Regions from separate parts of the Homo sapiens genome. Here region 1 is linked to region 2. The links are contacts of gene promoters, found by promoter capture Hi-C in blood cells and fetal thymus (Javierre and others, 2016). All regions are on one chromosome and are shown on one strand. Each heading gives the region's core, a stretch centred on a gene start or on the middle of the fragment in contact. The rest is flanking DNA. Distances are from core to core; before and after follow the strand shown.

Region 1 (6,288 bases), core at 3,214-5,713, 350 kb after region 2:
CATGGCTCAAATGTTCCCCCAGATAGCTGCACCCAAGTTTCTGCTCAGATGTCACCTCCTCAGAAGGGCTTCTCTGGCCACCCTGTCTGGAATTGCTCCTCCTCATTCTCTATCCACCTGCTTTATTTTTCTTCACAGCACTTACTGTTCCCACACCTGCAGTCTGTGTGCCCCATGGGGGTTAGAATGTGAACCACACAAGGGCAGGCACTGGGCACCAGTGCACCCCAGCAAGTGCCTGGAACACAGAAGGGTGCCTCTGAGGAGTCACTAGAGACAGCTGAAGGAAAAGCCATGGGAATTGGGAACAAGTGTCAAGAAAGGAGTGGCTAGCAATGCCTGATGCTGCTGAGAGATCCAGTGCCACGGGGAAGTGTCCCTGCTGACCTGGGCTCAGCAGTCCCAATGGGTGGCGTGGGCAGAATCCCCAATGGCGGGGCCTGGAGAACATCTGGCAATGCAGGAAACAGGAATCACAGCATGGAGCTCATTCAGGAACTACGGCTGAAGAGCAGGAAAAGGAGGAAGAGGTAGGTGAGGGGGTGGATGTGGGCTGAGGAAGGGTCTCTTTTCAAGACATTAAAAATGGGGTCAAGCTGGGCACGGTGGTACGCACCTGGAGCCCCAGCTACTCAAGAGGCTGAGGTGGGAGGATTGCTTAAGCCCAGGAATTCGACGCTGCAGTGAGCCCTGATTGTGCCAATGCACTCCAGCCTGGGTGACAAGAGTAAGACCCTATCTCTAAAAAATAAATACAGTAAAAATAAAAATGAGGGCCCGGCGTGGTGGCTCATGCCTGTAATCCCAGCACTTCGGGAGGCCGAGGTGGGAGGATCATGAGGTCAGAAGATCAAGACCATCCTGGCTAACATGGTGAAACCCAGTCTCTACTAAAAATACAAAAAATTAGCCAGGCATGGTGGCACGTACCTATAGTCCCAGCTACTTGGGGGGCTGAGGCAGGAAAATCGCTTGAACCTGGGAGGCGGAGCTTGCAGTGAGCCGAGATCACAACACTGCACTCCAGCCTGGGTGACAGAGGGACACTCCATCTCAAAATAAATAAATAAATAAATAAATAAATAAATAAAAAATAAGGTCAGGCAGGAAGCTGCCAAGGGAGAGCCTGAAGATTCAGGCCCAGGACATAATTGATAGAGGTGGCCTACGGCACAGTGTCCGCAAAGGAACCAGAACACAGGAGAGGAGACTTCCTCTCTTCACACCAGGTGGCTCTCAGCTACTTCCAGGTTGGGTTCTTTTTTTTTTTTTTTTTTTTTTTGAGACGGAGTCTCGCTCTGTCACCCAGGCTGTAGTGCTAGTGCAGCGGCGCGATCTTGGCTCACTGCAAGCTCCACCTCCCAAGTTCACGCCGTTCTCCTGCCTCAGCCTCCTGAGTAGCTGGGACTACAGGCCCCCGCCACCATGCCCAGCTAATTTTTTTGTATTTTTAGTAGAGACGGGGTTTCACCATGTTAGCCAGGATGGTCTCGATCTCCTGACCTTGTGATCCGTCCGTCTCGGCCTCCCAAAGTGCTGGGATTACAGGCGTGAGCCACCGCGCCCGGCCTTTTTTTTTTTTTTTTTTGAGACAGAATTTAACTTTTGTTGCCCAGCCTGGAGTGCAATGGCACAACCTAGGCTCACTGCAACCTCTGTCTCCCAGGTTCAAGCGATTCTCCTGTCTCAGCCTCCCCAGTAGCTGGGATTACAAGTGTGAGCCACCACACTCTGCTAATTTTTTGTATTTTTGTAGAGACAGGGTTTCACCATATTGGCCAGGCTGGTCTCGAACTCCTGACCTCACGTGATTCGCCCACCTCAGCCTCCCAAAGTGCTGGGATTACAGGCGTGAACCACCGTGCCCAGCCCACTAGTATTTTTTATATTCGTTACATTCTGAAATGGTATCTTGGATATATACTGAGTTAAATAAAACATTAAAATTAATTTCTGGCTGAGTGAGGTGGCTCATGTCTGTAATTCCAGCACTTTGGGAAGCCAAGGTGGGAGGATTGCTTGAGGCCAGGAGTTCAAGACCAGCCTGGGCAACAGAGTAAGACCCTATCTCTACATAAAAAAATGGCAGCAGGATCCCTTAAGCCAGGTGTTTGAGGTTACAATGAGCTATGATCGAGCCACTGCACTCCAGCCCGGGCAACAGAGCAAGACTCCATCCACCTCTACCTCCAAAATTAATTTCACCTGTTTCTTTTTTTTTTTTTATTTTTTATTTTTTTTTTTTGAGACAGAGTCTCGCCCTCACCCTGTCACCCAGGCTGGAGTGCAGTGGCGCGATCTCAGCTCACTGCAAGCTCCGCCTCCCAGGTTCATGCCATTCTCCTGCCTCAGCCTCCCGAGTAGCTGGGACTACAGGCACCCGCCACCACGCCCAGCTAACTTTTTTGTATTTTTAGTAGAGACGGGATTTGACCATGTTAGCCAGGATGGTCTCGATCTCCTGACCTCGTGATCCACCCGTCTGGGCCTCCTGAAGTGCTGGGATTACAGGCGTGAGCCACCGCACCCGGTTCACCTGTTTCTTTTAATGTTTTTAAAATGTGGTCACTTCTCAAGGTCCTTTCGACAAAAAAAAAAAAAAAAAAAAAAAAAGTAAAAGAAAAAAATGTGGTCACTAAAAAATTTTAAAGGACCTACTTGGCTCATATTGTATTTTTTTAAATAATAGTTTAGCTTAATTGTATCAAAACAATGCATGCCTAAGTTAAAAAAAAAACATAGTACTAAAAGGCTTAACAAAAACAGGCAGTCCCCCATCTTACCCTCTCAACTGTGCTCTTTTGAAGCAAATACTTTTTAATTTTTTAGCTGTTTGAATATTTACCTCCATACATATAAACAACATGCTTGCACCCTAATTCCTAACTTATTATAGACATTATCTATTGACGTCCTGTTTTGGTACCTGATGACCTAACTCTTACCCTCCCCTCTGAAGCCCTTTGCCTGTACTCCATCCTTTCAACAGTTCCACTGCATTAATTGAAAAATCTAAATGTGTTATGATGGAGGACAGAGCTCACAGCTGAACCAAGTGGTGTTCCGTGTCCTCACACAACTATGTACATATTGATACTTTTGTCAAATACCTATCCATAACTTTTCTAAATATCTTCAAATTACCTACAAATTATCGATCAGGTATCTTTGGGCTTTGTGTCTTTTTCTTGTCGATCTCTCTCCCTCCTGCAGAATTCCATCCTGTCTCTCTAACTCAGACTTTCCTCTGCCGCTCACCTGTGTCAGATCCCGTTTCCTGGATCCTGGGAAAAGTCCCTGGTTTTGGTGAAGAACAACTCCTTCTATCTCCTCCCCACAAGAGGTTCACAGGAGGCACTTTTTTTCCAGCCCTTACATGCCTAAAAGGAGGGTCTCACTCTGTCACCTAGGCTGGAGTGTAGTGGTGTGATCATGGTTCACTGCAGCCTCAACCTCCTGGGCTCAAATGATCCTCTTACTTCAGCCTCCTGAGTAGCTGGGACTACAGATGCACAACACCACACTTGGCTAATTTTTGTATTTTTTTGTAGAGACAGGGTTTTGCCATGTTTCCCAGGCTGGTCTCGAACGGGGCTCAAGCGATCCTCCTGTCTTGGCTTCCCAAAGTGCTGGGATTACAGGCGTGAACCACCATGCCCAGCCAAAAGAACTTTTTTCTACTCTACTTGACGTAGTTGGGCTGGATACGGAATTCTCTCAGAATGTTGCAGGATTTGCTCTGCTGTCTTCCAGTCTGAGTACCTGTCTTAACTGGCACATATAATTGTTTACTTTCATTGTGATCCATGTGGATTTATTTCTACTACCTTTAGGGCTTTCTGGCTACCATATTTTTTCTTTGCTCTCTTTCTTTTAGACAAATGACCTAGTTTTAAAATTCCATATTTTTACCCTCTGTGAGTTTGAAAGCTTTAAACACTATTTCTATTCTTTTGGTGGTTACCCTTAAAATTGGAACATGTCTACTTGACTCAGAAAGTTTGAAGTCAATCAATATCCCTCCTACACTTCCCAAACAGTTCAAAGAACTTAAGAGTGTGTTCATTCAAATCACCCCCTCACTGATTTCCATTTTTTGTTGGGACTTTGGTTTTTAATCCTCTCCAAATTAGTGACGATCACTTTCAGAAGCGAATGCTTATTCAGATTTACCTGCACTTCCCAACGCCTCTGGATACCATTACTGTCCGCATTTCTCCTTTCTCCTTACTTCCTTCTTCCCGAAGTACAGCGAAGGTCTCTTAGTAAATACAACTTTTTTTTTTTTCTGTGAAAATGTCCTTATTTGTTCCCATTATTGAACGATAATTTAAGCTGGTTGCTGAAAACTAAGCCAACAACTGATTTTCCTTAGCACACTGAAGATTTTACTTCCTTATGGCCTCTACTGTTGCTACTTGGCATTTCCTGAGTTTCACTGTTGAACCTGGGGAGTAATCTGCCTTTCTTCTCAAGCTGCCTTTAGGATGCTATTTTTCCCACTGGGCCCTCATACCACCATCCATGTTTGTAATGTCTCTTCCTCACAAGCATCTCTTTTATCTCTGCAGAATTCTAACTAACTTCTGCAGATCTGTTTTCCAGTTCCCATAGTTCTCTCTTGAGAATTTATGCTATTTGCTGTTTAACATTTCCACTGGGGTTTTAACTCAATGTTTTCACTCTAGAGGCTTTATTTGATTCTTTAAAAAATAATCCCTTTTAAGATGTATTCTGTCTTATTCTTTCCTTTGACATCTATTTCTTCTTTTAGCCCTTCAATCACTTTAGACATTTCTATTATAATCTCTTCTATTATTTGAATTCTCATGTTGAGAATCTTGTGTTTGTTGTGATCGCTGACTCATGTTCTAATTTCTACATGCTTGGTAATTTCCTAGAACAAGCTCATCATCTGTGGGCATCCTAGGATTCCAAAAGGCCTGTACTGTGCAAGGGTCACTCTAGAAAAGTTCTGCCTTTGTTCTGCAAGCAAGAAGCTTCAGGGGTATCGCCAGTCTGCTGGCTGGTCTGGTGCCAGCTCGGGCATTCCTGCAACATGTAGATGTTATAAACACAGACTTAGAACTTGGATGTTTTCCACTGTTCACAGAAGACTTCCTCCAACACAATCCAGAGTGTGGGGCAATGATCAGCTCCCTTGACATTTCTCTGATCCCATGGGGGAAATTTTCTTGCATCCCTTTTACCTGGGAATGGCTCTTTTGAGGGGATTTCTGTTTCAACTCCATGCTTCACGTGTTCATGCAAATCCAAACCTCTATTATTGTTAGGGTCGATTTCAGGGTCCAATGAACCCACCTTGCCCCTCCCCAGAGCTGCCTACTCTGCTCTGGCTTTATATTCCTGCTTTGCTTTCGGTTCTCTGTTTTTCTTTCTTATTCTGTTGTTATAGCTTATATAGCATTTTAAGTGATTGTAATGGGAGCGGTTCTAACTTTAGCTCAAGCTACCATGTCACTGAAACAGGAAATCCACCCCATTGTCTTCTGGCTTCCAATGAGGTTGAAAAATCCAATCCATCTTCATTCCCAGTCTTTTGTATGTGACCCGTTTTTGCTCTTCGGAAGCTTTATGCCCAGTGCTCTGGAATCACACAATGTGCCACAGGACATTTTCCATTTACCATTTTTGAAACTTATGACTGTCCATTCTGAAATAATTCTTGTTTCTCTGATACATTATGGTCCTTAATTTTCCCTTTCTCTCTTTATAGACTTCCTAGATGTCAGACGTTTTTAATCTGTTTCCTGGGAGCCTTCGTCAACTTCAAAGAAAAAGTAATGGTTTTAATTTCCGAGAACTCTTTCTTGTTCTGATTTTTATAGTAACTTTTTATTTCATGGATAAAATATTGGCTCTTCTTTCTGAGTATATTTGCCATGTGCTTTAAGGCTTTCTCCTACCTGAATCAGCTCTGATTCCTCGGAGATACATTTTTCTCTTTGCTTTCTCTGGCCTCTACCTTCCATACTGGAAGCTTTCTGAACATATCCAGTTATTCTTGGCATCCATTCCTATTTAAAAGTGAGGCAATAAGAGATCTTTGTGGTGATGGAAGAGTTGTGTATCTTGACTGCTGTTACATGTGGTTACATGAATCCACAGATGTGATAAAGGGTGTGAAACTGTATGCACATATTGTGTACCCATGTCAATTCCCTGATTTTCATATTGTCTGTGATTATATAAGACATGACCATCAAGGGAAACTGCATGAAGGGTAGAGGGGACCCCTCTACTATTTTTTTTTTTTTTTTTGAGATG
Region 2 (6,186 bases), core at 2,276-4,775:
AATATATATATAAATAAATAAATATATATATATATAAAATTGCACCAACCTTTAAGTCAAAGTAATACAGCACATAATTTACAATACAAAATGATATTTCAATACTACTTCAGGGGCCGGGCGTGGTGGTTCACGCCTGTAATCCTAGCACTTTGGGAGGCTGAGGCAGGCAGATCACTTGAGGTCAGGAGTTCGAGACCAGCCTGGGCAACATGGTGAAACCCCATCTCTACTAAAAATACAAAAATTAGCCAGGCATGGTGGTGCATGCCTGTAGTCCCAGGTACTCGGGAGGCTGAGGCAGGAGAACTGCTTGAACCCGGAAGGCGGAGGTTGCAGTACACCGAGATCGTGCCACTGCATTCCAGACTGGGTGACAGACAAAGACTCTGTCTCAAAAAAATAAGTAAATAAATAAAATGAAATAAAAATAAATAAATAGGCCAGGCACATTGGCTCACACCCGTAATCCCAGTACTTTGGGAGGCTGAGGCAGGTGGATCACCTGAGGTCAGGAGTTCAAGACCAGCCTGGCCAACATGGTGAAATCTTGTCTCTACTAAAAATTAGCCGGGCATGGTGGCATGTGCCTTCAGTCCCAGCCACTCAGGAGGCTGAGGCAGAAGAATCACTTGAACCCGGGAGGCGGAGGTTGCAGTGAGCCGAGATCGCGCCACTATACTCCAGCCTGGGCAACAGAGTGAGACTCCGTATCAAAAATAAATAAAATAAATACTACTTCAGCATCTCAATCAAAGCTACCAGGGTATAGATTATTTAAAAGAAAAAAAAAAAAAGAAATAGGCCAGACACGGTGGCTCACGCCTGTAATTCCAACACTTTGGGAAGCTGAGGTGGGTGGATCACCTGAGGTCAGGAGTTTGAGACCAGCCTGGCCAACATGGCGAAACCCCATCTCTACTAAAAATACAAAAATTAGCCAGGCATGGTGGCACATGCCTATAATCCCAGGTACTCTGGAGGCAGAAGCAGGAGAATCACCTGAACCCGGGAGGCATGGGCTGCAGTGAGCCAGGATTGCGCCACTACACTCCAGCCTGGGTGACAGAGTGAGACTCCATCTCAAAAAACAAACAAACAAACAAACAAAAAAAACAGCTACTCAGGAGGCTGAGGCAGGAGAATCGCTGGAACCCAGGAGGTGGAGGTTGCAGTGAGCCAACATTGCGCCACTGCACTCCAGCCTGGCGACAGAGCGAGACTCCATCTCAAAAAAAAAAAAAAAAACAAAGCAAACAAACAAACAAAAAAAACAATGCTCTAGACTTTCTAGCATATTTGCTGATATAGCAGAGTAAACAGGATATTAACAAAAGCAAAGCAAGTCCCACAATGATTTCCAAACATCTTGTATGTGATACTAACCTGTACCTCTGAAAATCTCCATGCCGTAAACCATGCTGCTGCTGGGATTCCTTAATAATCTGAAGAACTAGAGTCGAGATTAAGGAAAATCTTACCATAGCAAGAATCCAAACAAATCAAAACCTGTACCATCAGTCTATATCTGTGTCAAACCACAACACATTAAACATTTGTGAAATATAGCCAGGTACGGTGGCTCATGCCTGTAATCCCAGCACTGTGGGAGGCCGAGGCGGGTGTATCACCTGAGGTCAGGAGTTCAAGACCAGCCTGGCCAGCATGGTGAAACCCCGTCTCTACTAAAAACACAAAAAATTAGCCGGGCGCAATGGCTAGCACCTGTAATCCCAGCTACTCGGGAGGCTGAGGCAGGAGAATCGCTTGAACTTGGAAGGCAGAGGTTGCAATGAGCCAAGACAGCGCCACTGCACTCCAGCCTAGGTGAGAGTGAGATTCAGTCACACATGCACATGCACACACACACACACACACACACACACACAAATTTGTGAAATATTTAGTACACTGGTGAGATCTTTTGTAACCATTTTCAATATCTATCTTGTCACAGGACAGGGCTAACCTACAGGAAAACTGATTGCCTGAACTGTTACTACTTGCAAACTGAAAAAGGAGGGCACTACTGGCCACTGGAAACTGCCAAAACCCAGTTTAAATTAAGCTGATGGATTCTAAATGCTGACTATAATTGGGGTGCTTCACACCAATTAACACCTAGACCCCACATTTTATTCATTCAGATTCAGGTTATAAATGACATGTACTAAGCCTCCATTTGCATAATCTCCAACACCTGCCAAATCTAACTTTCCTTAACAGCTGTGATGCTTAGAGAGTCTATGATTAGCACATGTCAACCAAGCTAGGCTACAGTTTGCATAAAAGTATTAAGGTTTTTCTTTCAAAAGAAGAATGGCCAGATTCTCCTTTTAATAATCTTAAAATATTTAAGATTATGTACTAATCTTTAGAAAGTCCAATGACCTTCATCTATATAGGTATAGTTTTAATGTTTCCTCAACACTTCTCTAGAGACATATTTTAAAATAGTGAACGCTAAAAGGACTCTTTAAATTACTAAAACGGGACAAAGAGATATAAAGGTCTCAGTAAAATCAGGGCTCGCTAGCGTCTACTTGGAACTATTACCAGTAATTCAAAATATTTAACTCCAAGCGCCTGAGAACTTTAAGCACATTAAGATGTCAAGTTGAATGTGTTATTTCAGAAACTCGCCTACGTTTTCTCCATTTGTTATTCATTTCAAAAGGTCACAAACTAGTACCACAAGCACTTGGTTGAGATACACACTGATGGAAACTAGAAACCGATTCCTCCAGCTTATATGAATGACTGTCAGCAAGATAAAATGCCTACAGACCGATCAGAAAAAAATGACACAATCGATATTAACTACGGTAACTTACAATCAAAATGGGCAACAAGCTTTTCCTGAGTCAATCTTTACCTCCACTTTCAAAGTATCGAGCTGTAGGTTTTACTACTCAGTCTATGACGACTGTCAGACAAGAGTATTAAGCCAAATGTCAAGACTGCAGTTTCCTCTCCCCAGTTCAGTGGCTCAAGGTGCCAAAGCAAGGTGCTCAAGGTGTCACTTGGTCACAAGCCCTCCAACTGGACAACTGCGGGGCACCAGGGGAAACCTGCCTGATATCCCAGTGCCACTGGAAGAAACGGACCTAGCCAGGACGGCGAGGGGGACACGAGGAAAGACTAGTCGAGAGACAGACCCCCCCCGGAATTCTGAGCACCAAAAGGTAAGGGCGAGAGAAACTGCAACCCTCGGCCTCTCCTGCCAGGACTTGTCGGGACCCGCCGCCTCTCCCGCCCCCAGCCCTCCAGTTCGACACGTAATCATTGCGAGTTAGGCCCGATTACTCTAGGATACTCTCCAAACTCAGGCTATCCCCAAATTCTTTGTTTGCCTTCGATCCGGCCGAAGGGCGTTCGTTTTCTTTATTTTCTTCCCCTCCGGCACCACGTCCACCGCCGCTACCGCCGCCGCCACTGCCACCGCCGCCGCCACTGCCGCCGCCGCCGCCGCCGCCTGGGACCTGCTTCTCAGCAGCCATCTTGCCCCTGCGCCGCAGAGCAAGACGGGATAGGGGAGGCGGGACGACCTGGGCGGGTGAGAGCTGGACCTGCCTGGCCGGGCTGATGGGATAGCGGCGGACTCCGCCGCCGTCGGCCCTTGCTGCAGCAGGGCGCCATGTGCTGGAGCGCGCCTGCGCGAGGGATCCTGTCATCCCGGGTCCGGAATTGTGGCTGGCTAGGTGGGGACTTGAGGCCGCAGTGAGACCGTGGCTGCTGAGATCTCAGGGGGCAGTCCCACCTCCCACCCACTAAGGGCGGAGAACCGGAGGTGGACCCCAGGTCCTGCATCCTGGACTGGGGATCTGGTTCACGTCCTGCCCAGCAGAAAGCAGGAGACCAAAGATACTGGATTTCGGGGTGTCTGCATCCCCAGGGACTCAAGAGATGGGGTCCTCCCTACCGGAACGGGACACCCCGTCCGTAAGGGACCCGCCTCTGCCTGCCCTTTCCTCTGAGGCTGGCCGTAAGAACGCCAAGCCGGAGGAAGCGCTGCGCAGTCAGCAGACGGTGTCCTAACGGGGTGACTTTCTCAGACCGCTTGGGGCCGTGGACCACTGCACTTTGGGGCCGTCAGTCCAAAGAGGGAGAAGTGTTGAGACATGGGAAAATATGAATTTTTGCTTTGCACCTTCTAGAGTCTGAGACCTGGGATTCCAATCCCCGCTCCGTCATTAGCGGCAGGGACATGTTGGGCACGTAACTTAATCTCCCTGTAAATCTGTTCCTTCATCTATGAAATGGGGATAACCAATTTAAGTGGTTGTTAGGAAGATTAAATGACGGATTTTTTTTTTTTTTTTAGATAGAGTTTCGCTCTTGTTGCCCAGGCTGGAGTGCAATGGTGTGATCTCGGCTCACTGCAACCTCTGCCTCCTGGGTTCAAGCCATTCTCCTGCCTCAGCCTCCCGAGTAGCTGGGATTACAGGCGCCTGCCACCACGTCCCGCTAATTTTTGTATTTTTAGTGGAGACGGGGTTTCACCATGTTGGTCAGGATGGTCTCGATCTCCTGACCTCGTGATCCGCCCGCCTCGGCCTCCCAAAGTGCTGGGATTACAGGCGTGAACCACCGCGCCCGGCCCTGAACTCTATTTTGAATTTCCTCAAGGTATACGGAATAAGGTCAGGAGAAAAAGAATAAGGATCTGATGCATTCAGATTTAACTAACTCTCCCATACATCTCATTCCTTTCTCAGCAGATCCCTCTTAGAAGGAAGTGTTACCATTTCCTTGTTACAGCTGAGGAAACTGAGGCATGGAGCCAAAGACAGAGCCTGACACAATAGATGCTCAGTATATTGGATTGAATTGGAGGGAAAACGTTCAATGGGTAAGAGAAGGGAAAAAGGTGGCCGGGCTCGGTGGCTTACGCCTGTAATCCCAGCACTTTGGGAGGCCGAGGTGGGCGGATCACTTGAGGTCAGGAGTTTGAGACCAGCTTGGCCAACATGGTGAAACCCCATTTCTACTAAAAATACGAAAATAAGCCAGGCGTGGTGGCAGGCGCCCGTCATCCCAGCTACTCGGGAGGCTGAGGCAGGAGGATCGCTTGAACCCGGGAGGCGGAGGTTGCAGTGAGCCGATATCATGCCACTACACTCCAGCCTGGGCGACAGAGTGAGACTCTGTCTCAACAAATACAAATACAAAAAACTAGCCAGACGTTGTGGCGGACGCCTGTAGTCCCAGCCCCTCAGAAGGCCGAGGCAGGAGAACCGTTTGAACCCGGGAGACGGAGGTTGCAGTGAGCCGAGATCGCGCCACTGCACTCTAGCCTGGGCGAAAGAGCCAGACTCCGGGGCCCCTCATCCGCCTCCGCCCCGCGTTTCCTCCCCCCGATCTCCCAGGGGTCCTCTTTTGAGGGCACCCCAGCCCCTCGACGGTCCCGGGATATCCTGCACCCCTGCCAGGCTGCAGGGAAGCGCCGAGGCGCGCGGAGTGCGAGGTCCGTGCTCCCTGCGGCGCGGCGCACACGCAGGGTCCGGGGTCGACCCCTCCACCGCTCCGGCGTCTGCCGGGGAAGTCAGTCCGCCTGGTCAGCCCAGAACCCCCGACTGCGGGGGCTGGAGCTCGGAAGCAGGTACAAGCGCCACTCTCCGCCTGCGCCGTGGAATGCGCGCCGGGACCACTCCGCAGCCCTTCCCCCAGCGCCGCCGGCCGCTGCTGGGGACAACCTCGCCCTCCTGTCTCTTGCTCCTCCTCCTGACCCCAGCGCACCCCCATCCCCGCCCCAGATGAGGCAAGGCTCCCTCCGCCTTCAGCCCGGCAGAGTCGCACTAGGAGTTGCAGCGGCCGCAGCCCCGGGAGCTTCCCGCTCGCGGAGACCCAGACGGCTGCAGGAGCCCGGGCAGCCTCGGGGTCAGCGGCACCATGAACGTCTCGGGCTGCCCAGGGGCCGGGAACGCGAGCCAGGCGGGCGGCGGGGGAGGCTGGCACCCCGAGGCGGTCATCGTGCCCCTGCTCTTCGCGCTCATCTTCCTCGTGGGCACCGTGGGCAACACGCTGGTGCTGGCGGTGCTGCTGCGCGGCGGCCAGGCGGTCAGCACTACCAACCTGTTCATCCTTAACCTGGGCGTGGCCGACCTGTGTTTCATCCTGTGCTGCGTGCCCTTCCAGGCCACCATCTACACCCTGGACGGCTGGGTGTTCGGCTCGCTGCTGTGC

What was found. The method cuts DNA at HindIII sites, captures the fragments that hold promoters and counts their contacts. A CHiCAGO score of 5 or more calls a contact.
Region 1: a fragment that was not itself captured here is called in contact with the fragment with the promoter of SRP68 in region 2 in 3 of 17 cell types (M0 macrophages, naive CD8 T cells and M1 macrophages); the score reaches 5.5 in M0 macrophages.

Annotation. Positions count from the first base shown.
Region 1 is chr17:76,422,638-76,428,925 of GRCh38, forward strand. The region is part of intron 1 of UBE2O (ubiquitin conjugating enzyme E2 O); the gene reads right to left. Among named protein-coding and RNA genes, the nearest start is that of UBE2O, 27 kb to the right of the region's middle. RefSeq lists enhancers at 1-399, 400-899. The HindIII fragment of the contact is 1,070 bases long and covers 3,929-4,998 here.
Region 2 is chr17:76,068,992-76,075,177 of GRCh38, forward strand. SRP68 (signal recognition particle 68) reads right to left here and starts at 3,526. Exons shown (of 16, transcript NM_014230.4): 1 at 3,317-3,526; 2 at 1,387-1,453. The coding sequence starts at 3,500. GALR2 (galanin receptor 2) reads left to right here and starts at 5,790. Exons shown (of 2, transcript NM_003857.4): 1 at 5,790-6,186. The coding sequence starts at 5,893. RefSeq lists enhancers at 2,813-3,640, 3,639-3,688, 3,641-4,468, 5,855-6,186. The HindIII fragment of the contact is 7,541 bases long and covers 2,852-6,186 here.